2 separate regions of the Homo sapiens genome follow, and region 2 is linked to region 1. Evidence: promoter capture Hi-C in 16 types of primary human blood cells and fetal thymus (Javierre and others, 2016). All regions are on one chromosome and are shown on one strand. The core of a region is centred on a gene start or on the middle of the fragment in contact, and the rest is flanking DNA. Distances in the headings are between cores, read along the strand shown. Region 1 holds the start of CTCF (CCCTC-binding factor). Region 2 overlaps DUS2 (dihydrouridine synthase 2).

Region 1 (3,639 bases), core at 124-2,623:
AAACTCATTCTGCCCTACTGGCGCTCTAGATCGAGTTGCACAATCCTGGGGCAGAACCGCCTTCACCTAGCCCTAGAGCATCAGGTACTAAGTTAGTGTGAGGACATTTTAAAGCGGGAGGGAAACTCAAGGGACTTAGCCCATACTCCCAAATTCAGAAATTTGTCACGTCACTTGAGATCAGAATGAAATTTAAGTTTCAGTCCCTTTGAGATCTCTGAGCGCACAAAGTCAGGCTGCTATCACTCGGCTGGGGAGTCCGAACCCGGCTGGATAAAAACTACTTGGTGCGGAACTCGCATCTTTTCCGCCCACCGTGGGGGGGCCGCACCGGTCGGGTCCGGCCAGGAACCCGGGCGCGAGTTTGGGGGCGCAGCGGGGGCGGCGAGCGCGCGTCCCCCCGCCCGCTCAGGCAGCGTAGAGGTGCGAGCAGCTCAGCCAGCCTTGCAGAGGGAGCTCTCGGCAGCTCTGGGGTCCCTCTGCTCGCAGCCGCTGCAGCGCCGCCTGCGCCACTCGGCGGAGACGGAGACCAGCGGCGGCGACGCGCGGACTGGGAGCGACCGCCGAGCAGCCAAGCAGCTGGGAAGGCACGCAGGCCGGCAGGGTAGGTTCCGGGGACGGGGCTGGCTGGAGGAGGGGCAGCCCGAGACGCGACGGCCAGGGCCCGACACCCATACGGCACCGGGACCTGGCTTAGCGCGCGGCGGCAGTCGGTCCGAACCCTTAAGCTAGGCGGGCGCCGAAGCCGGGACGCGGAGATAGTGTCTCAGCTGGGGCCACCCGCCGCGGGAGGGGCGGAGGACACAGGACAGAGGGCGGGCCGCGGCCGGGCGATCGGCCGGCCAAGAACCGGCCTCGAGGGCAGACAAAGGAAGGAAAATGGAGTCGCCGGGCGCGCGGGCCTCTGCCTCTGCCGCCGCCCGAGGCCTAGCGCGCTGCCAGGAGGGAGGCCTAGCGGGCGGGCGGGCGGGCGGGCGTGGGGGTGGGGGGGGCGGCCGGGCCACGGCGGCGACGGGCAATGGCGGCGGCCGCGCCGCAGCAGGGACGGTAGAGGGAGACAAACACCCCCCGGCGGCGGCGCTGGCGCCGGGCTGCAGCCAGCGCCGACCGGAGCGGCCCCATCGTGACACCTAGAGGCGGCCCGCGAAACCTCCTCCACCCCGGGCCCCCTTACCTCCGCGCCACACCCCCCGCGGCGCCCGCTCCGCCGCCGCTCCACGGCTCCGGCCACCCGGCGTCTCCGGCGAGCTCCGCGCGTCCGCACCGGCCACCGCCGCCGCCGCTGCCGCCAAAGAAGCAGCTCCGCGCACGGTTTAATCGCTCCACAGGCTCAGACACAAAATGGCGGCGGCGCGGTGCAGTGCGCCTGCGTCGGCGCTGCCGGGGCCGCGGGTGCTGATAAGGGAAGGGACGGGTGGGGGGACCGGCCGGGCGGCGAGTAGAGGGCGGGGGAGGAAAGGTGAGGGGAGGGGTTGGCGCAGGGCAGCATGGGAGGCGGCCCCGGGCGCCAACTTTCAAAAGCGGGCGCGATGGCGTCACGGGACGCGCCGCGAGTCGCGTCGTCACGCCGCACGCGCCCTCGCCGGGTCGCTCGTGGGCTCTGCCGGCGCCGCGGCGTCCTGGCTCCCGCTGGGTGGGGCTTCCTGGGCGGAGGCCGCCGCCCCTGGGCGGTGCCGGATCCAGTCCGCTTGACCTTATTCCCTAGCTGCTGTCTCCGGCCCCCTGAACCCGTACAGGGTTGGGGAAGTGGGGGTGGCTGGAGGAAGCGCGCGCGGGGCAAGCCAGTGGGGCTGAGGAGGCTCCCGGGCCCGGCCCCGCCCAGTCTCCGCCCCAGCCAGGCCCGACCCGCCCTCCGAATGTCTTACAGCTGCCCGCCCCAGAGTAAGGCCCGGTCGGTTCCCGCGCGCTCCCAGCTCCGTGCCCGCGAGCGACGACTGGAAGGGCTGTCCTTGCTCAGCGGCTTTTGGTGATCTCTCCGCCCTAGAAGAGGGCCACCTAAAAGCGGGTGCGAGAGGAGAGTGGGAGGGCCTCCTCTTGGTGTCCCCAGGCCACCTCAGCCCGGAGAGGTGGCGGAAAACCAGACTTGATGCTTTAACACGTTCATAGCAATCGCTTTTTACTGAAAGGAGTTTCTGTATTTAGCGCTGTGTAATTCTGTGGAAACGTGCATTTCTTGTCTTTGCGGGAGAGCTGTTCTCTGTGGGCGGAGACCTTCAGTCCCACCCCTCCCCAGGAGGCGCCTGCGGACCCTTCCCAACCTGCAGTCAAGTTGACCAAGAACTGACTGCAAGGTGCTGGTGGCTCTGGGATGAGAGCCTTTTGGTACTTACAGGGAATATGACTCTTCCCTTAGATATCAAATGGACCCAATATCTAGGGAGCAGCTTCTTCTCCATCCATCTGACCGTTCCGTTGTGAGAATGCTGGCCCAATAACATACTCTTTTTTTTTCCCCTAAAGGAATAAAAAAATCTGTATTTTTAAGATGTCAAATCTCCAGAGTTTTTAGATGTTAGCAACTGAATCAGATGTTTTTAAACTTCATGAGCTGATTAAACCACACAGATGAGCTGTCAGTTTACGACCCCTGGCTTGGCTTGGAGGAAAGAGTGAAGAGAAATTCCATGGCCAAATCCTGGGGCACTCCAATATTGGGAGGGTAATGGAGAAGGAGTCTGAAAGGCAGCATCTAGGAAGTCATGAAAGCTAGCGCTGAGTTGTGGAATCCCTGGGCAGAGAAGGTTTCAGGTAGGAGGCATCAGCTGAGCGGTGTGATAAACTTGGGCCAGAGATGTGGCTATTGGATTGGGTCACCTTGCAAGTCACTGGAGAATGTCACTGATGGCCTTGGCTTGATTCACGTGAGTATATCAGGGAGGTGGACCTGACCGGAATGGGTTAAACAGTCACCAGGAAAGTGAGGAAATGGAGACAGCACATGTATGCAATTTGAGAGAGGTTTTGCTGTGAAGGGACCAGATAAGTTTGGGGATAGATATAGAAAGAAATCTTTTAAAAGATAGTAGGGGCCGGGCGCAGTGGCTCACGCCTGTTATCCTAGCACTTTGGGAGGCCAAGGCAGGTGGATCACCTGAGGTCAGGAGTTCGAGACCAGCCTGGCCAATATGGTGAAACCCGGTCTCTACTAAAAATACAAAAATTAGTTGGGCATGGTATCGCGCGCCTGTAATCCAAGCTACTGGGGAGGCTGAGGCAGGAGAATTGCTTGAACCCGGGAGGCAGAGGTTGCAGAGAGCCAAGATTGGGCCACAGCACTCCAGCCTGGGCAACAAAGCGGGACTCCATCTCAAAAAATAATAATAAATAAAATAAAAGATGGTAGGGTTCCCAGAGCATGTTTATGTGCCATTGGGAGGGATATGGTGGGGAAGAAAGATGGGTGATCCAGGAGAGAGGAGGCTTGCTTGACCTATATAGGAGTGAAATCCATCAGAAGATATAAGGAAACAGGGAGGGTTGACCTTGGAGAGGAACAGGGATGCTTCCATTCATGATAAGGGCAACAAAGGTGAAGACAGATGCAAGTGCAGGGGAGAGGGAAGGCAAGTCCTTAACAGGATTGCCTTGGTGGCATTGGGTACTCATCTGAGGTTTGTGATCATGATGTTAAAGGTAAAC
Region 2 (3,768 bases), core at 659-3,158, 510 kb before region 1:
CTGAAAGCACCTTCTATGGGATGCTGAAAATTTAGAACGAGTTTCCAAACCAACAAGACCTGTGGTCCCTACGTTTGACATTAAGCACATACAGCAGCCAGTGTGCTGGCCCAGTGGGACCCCAAGGGTGCTGGCCCTAGCCCAAGCTGAGGCCAAGCTGGAGACCTACCGGTCAAACTTGACAGCCATCTTAATGACACCAGAGGTATCTTCAGCTGGCTCCCCTGTCTGCTCTGAAGTCTTGGCTGAGAGCCTGGCCTGCTGGGCATCCAGCTCCTGTGTGGTCTCCTCATAGAAGGCACCAAGGCCAAAGGCCTCACTAGGGAGGAAGAAGCAGATCAGAGCAAACACTTTAGCGGAGCCAGCATCCAGGGTACTGCAGGACCCCAGGGCCCCACCACTGAGAAACTCCTCTACCACATACACCAAAACACCACCGGGGCCTGGCCATCAGAATGTGCCCCCTGCCCAGCCCTGGGATTACTGTGGACTGGAAGATGGAAAGTGAATGTGAACCCAAGCGTGGACACTGGAGGGAGGCTGGGCTGGGTGGCAAAGGTTGTAAAGGTCACCCCCACCACCTGCAGCCTCTCTCCTGAGGGGAAGCACACAGATGGTATCCCCAGCCAGCCGTGACTGAGTTAACCAATGCTGATCAAGCACATGGGCCCATGGGAGGAAGAGACAGAGGCCTGACCACTAAGTGGTTCCCCACTTCCCGCCCAGCCACAGGCAGTTATACATGGGTCTCAGCTGACACTGAGGCACCACCCAGAGCTACAGAGTTATGTGGGGTAGGGACTGAACCAATGCCATAAGCCAAGGGTGGGAAGAGGGCTCTGGCAAAGGTTTTTCCCTTCTAGGAAACATCTTGAAGGCTGGAAGACTCAAACGAAGATAGATCCCCAATGGCAAAAGTGGTTCAGAAAGGCATCTATGTAAGAGGGAGGCTACAGATAGCTCACGTGAGAGGGAGAGAGCCTTCCAGGCAGACGACCCATTACAAGCACAGGTGTGGAGTTCTGGAAGCAGACAGGTAGACAGGGAGCTGTGGGGGCAGTGGCTAGGCCAGCTTGTGAAGGGCCTCAACTGTCAACCATCTGAGCTAGAGCTGCACCTGATCTAGAGAATCAACAGGTGGTCTCTCAAACTGCAGGGTGATGGATGTGAGTGCAGGCTCAAGGTAGAGGCTCCATGCTACAGCCCAATTCTCCTGACCACTGGTTCCTGGGGGCCTGGCCTGTGACTATCCCATTTATGGAAAATCCCCTTCCTTTGCATTCCTCTATCCTTCTAGTACCCTAGTTCCCAGAGCTCTGCTGATCCGTCCAGGGATGGGACGTTTCAAAGCTTTCAAAGAATCCCCTCCTGGGAGGCAAAGCTGTACCATCACTCCACTCCTCTACATCTACATCCAGAAGCTGTGTCCCTGGTCCCCTGGTGGAGTCAGCTTAGGGCTCAAAGTCAAACTTGGGCAATGCGTACAAGGACAGATGGACATCTTATTGTGCCTCTTACCAAATTTCCCGGGAAGACTGGGCAGCATGGAGCAACCTTCCCTGGGGCGACTCCAGCTGTTCTCGTAGCATCTGGCACAAGCAGTACTTGGTGTTGGTGTAGTGGTTGTCATACTGCACCGCCTGAGAAAAGAAATGACTTGCCTGATGCCCAGGCAGGCTCTAAGGCCTGGGCTATGCTCTGATGGCAGGGAAAGGAGCTCCAAGAAGGCACCAGAGATGTATGTGTAGCCAAGGCAATGTGACCCCCATAAGAAGAACCACCACTGGCCAGGAGCAGTGGCTCACATCTGTAATCCCAGCACTCTGAGAGGCCAATGCAGGAGGACTGCTTGAGGCTAGGAGTTCAAGAGCAGCCTGGGCAACGTAAGACTCAACTCTACAAAAATTAAAAAAAAGAAAATTATCGGCTGGGCACGGTGGCTCACGCCTGTAATCACAGCACCTTGGGAGGCCAAGGCGGGCGGATCACCTGAGGTCAGGAGTTCAAGACCAGCCTGACCAACATGGTGAAGCCCCGTCTCTACTAAAAATACAAAATTAGCTGGGCGTGGTGGCGGGTGCCTGTAATCCCAGCTACTCGGGAGGCTGAGGCAAGAGAATCGCTTGAACCCTGGAGGCGAAGGTTGCGGTGAGCCAAGATCGTGCCACTGCACTCCAGCCTGGGCGACAACAGCAAAACTCTGTCTCAAAAAAAAAAAAAAAAAGAAAAAGAAAATTAGCCAGGCATGTTGGCACACACCTGTAGCCATAGCTACTAGGGAGGCTAAGGCAAGAGGATTGCTTGCACCCAGGAGTTGTGGCTGTAGTGAGCTATGATCATGCCACTGCACTCCAGCCTGGGCAACAGACTGAGACCCTATCTAAAATTAAAAATAAAAATAAAAATAAATTAAAAAGCCACTTCGACCTTGGTCATCTACTCTTCCAGCTAGTGGTACAAAGCTTGAGGGTCACAGCCAAGGACCACGGTCAGAAACACATTCTCCTGGACAGCCTGACTGAGGTCTCGAAGTGCGGGAGCCCCTTCCTGCTTCAGCCACCACAGAGGACCTACTGCCAAGTATCTTCCAGGGAAGGGAGGGGAAACACACCAAATTCTGGCATGGCAGGTCCAGTGCCAGGAAAGGGGTGAGATTCTTCTATTCCTTCTAACCAGAATGGGCACCTTCCCTTCCCACATCTTGAATAGCCTCTAACTTCCCCCTACGTGGGTAAAACACAGCATCATTTAGTTCACATGGGTTACTCATGACTACATTTATCTATACAAGTGTGAGGTGCAACTGTCACCATCACTCCACAGACCGTGAAATGAAGGCTCAGGGAGGCAAGATGACTGACTGCCTGGGACACCCAGTGGAAGTCGGCTGGCTAGAGGTAGGGCAGGAGAGCAGTATTGGGTGAAGGTGGCCTTCCCCAGCCCTCCAGGACACCCTCCCATCCCCCACCCCCTATGCTGCTCTAGTAACTCCACGTGGGCCTATGACTTCAGTGGCTGGGAAAGTGCCACGGCACGCTCAGGACAAAGTGGGAAGTAAGTCGGGGCGCCCCGGCTGGTGGCAAGTCCTTGACTCAGCTTGTCTGGGAAGAAGGCACCTGGCTGGACCAGAAGCAGCCCTGCCTATGCTTGAAAGCCGCTCCCTTTCTCTGTGATAGCACACCCTCTTGAGGAGCTGCCAAGAGATGGCTCAGCAGGAATGATAATATCACCTTTCACCCAGTGAGCAAGCTCAGCACTGTTCAGCACGTCTTCTTGGCCAGACTTGCCAGCTGGCCAAAAAGCTGGATAGCTGACCTGGGCTGGGGCAAGCCCTCCCTTGCCATGGAGCTATCCCAGACCATTGGAGAGCTGGTGGTCACCAACTTGCCCAGCAGGACACCAGAACCAGGGAGTGAGGGCTGCAGCATTGAACAGGAAATAGGACAAAGGCTGCCCAGCTCTGGACGCAGACCTCAGGGCATCTTACCATCCTAGCTTGCACAGCCATGGAAACACTCACATACCATGGCAGCCACAGGCACTCCTAGGCAGGTATGAACCCTAGGACTGAAGAGGAGGGTGGAACTCTGCTCTGGGCAAAGACTGCACCCTCTGTTCAGACCCAATTCACTGAAGAATTTGAGGACCACTCACTGTCTCTCCCTGCAGACATGTGCAGCTGATCAGAGTCCCACAGAGTTCCAGGGTTGTGCCAAAGAGATAAGGCAAGTGAACTCTTCATTTTCTTTTATAGGGATATGCCCTTGG

What was found. Contacts are between HindIII fragments. The CHiCAGO score rates a contact against its expected background, and 5 or more counts as called.
Region 2: a contact is called between a fragment that was not itself captured here and the fragment with the promoter of CTCF in region 1, in 2 of 17 cell types (naive B cells and total B cells). The highest score is 6.5, in naive B cells.

Annotation. Positions count from the first base shown.
Region 1 is chr16:67,560,260-67,563,898 of GRCh38, reverse strand. CTCF (CCCTC-binding factor) reads right to left here and starts at 1,373. Exons shown (of 12, transcript NM_006565.4): 1 at 1,175-1,373. It overlaps CTCF-DT (CTCF divergent transcript), which reads left to right and starts at 1,590. Exons shown (of 1, transcript NR_158165.1): 1 at 1,590-2,488. It overlaps LOC124903703 (a long non-coding RNA gene), which reads left to right and starts at 449. Exons shown (of 2, transcript XR_007065094.1): 1 at 449-604. RefSeq lists silencers at 302-401, 922-1,931 and enhancers at 155-1,017, 2,162-2,211, 2,232-2,281. The HindIII fragment of the contact is 5,949 bases long and covers 1-3,639 here.
Region 2 is chr16:68,071,906-68,075,673 of GRCh38, reverse strand. DUS2 (dihydrouridine synthase 2) reads right to left here. Exons shown (of 17, transcript NM_017803.5): 13 at 1,519-1,640; 14 at 170-319. Among named protein-coding and RNA genes, the nearest start is that of NFATC3, 12 kb to the left of the region's middle. RefSeq lists an enhancer at 243-352. The HindIII fragment of the contact is 1,112 bases long and covers 1,353-2,464 here.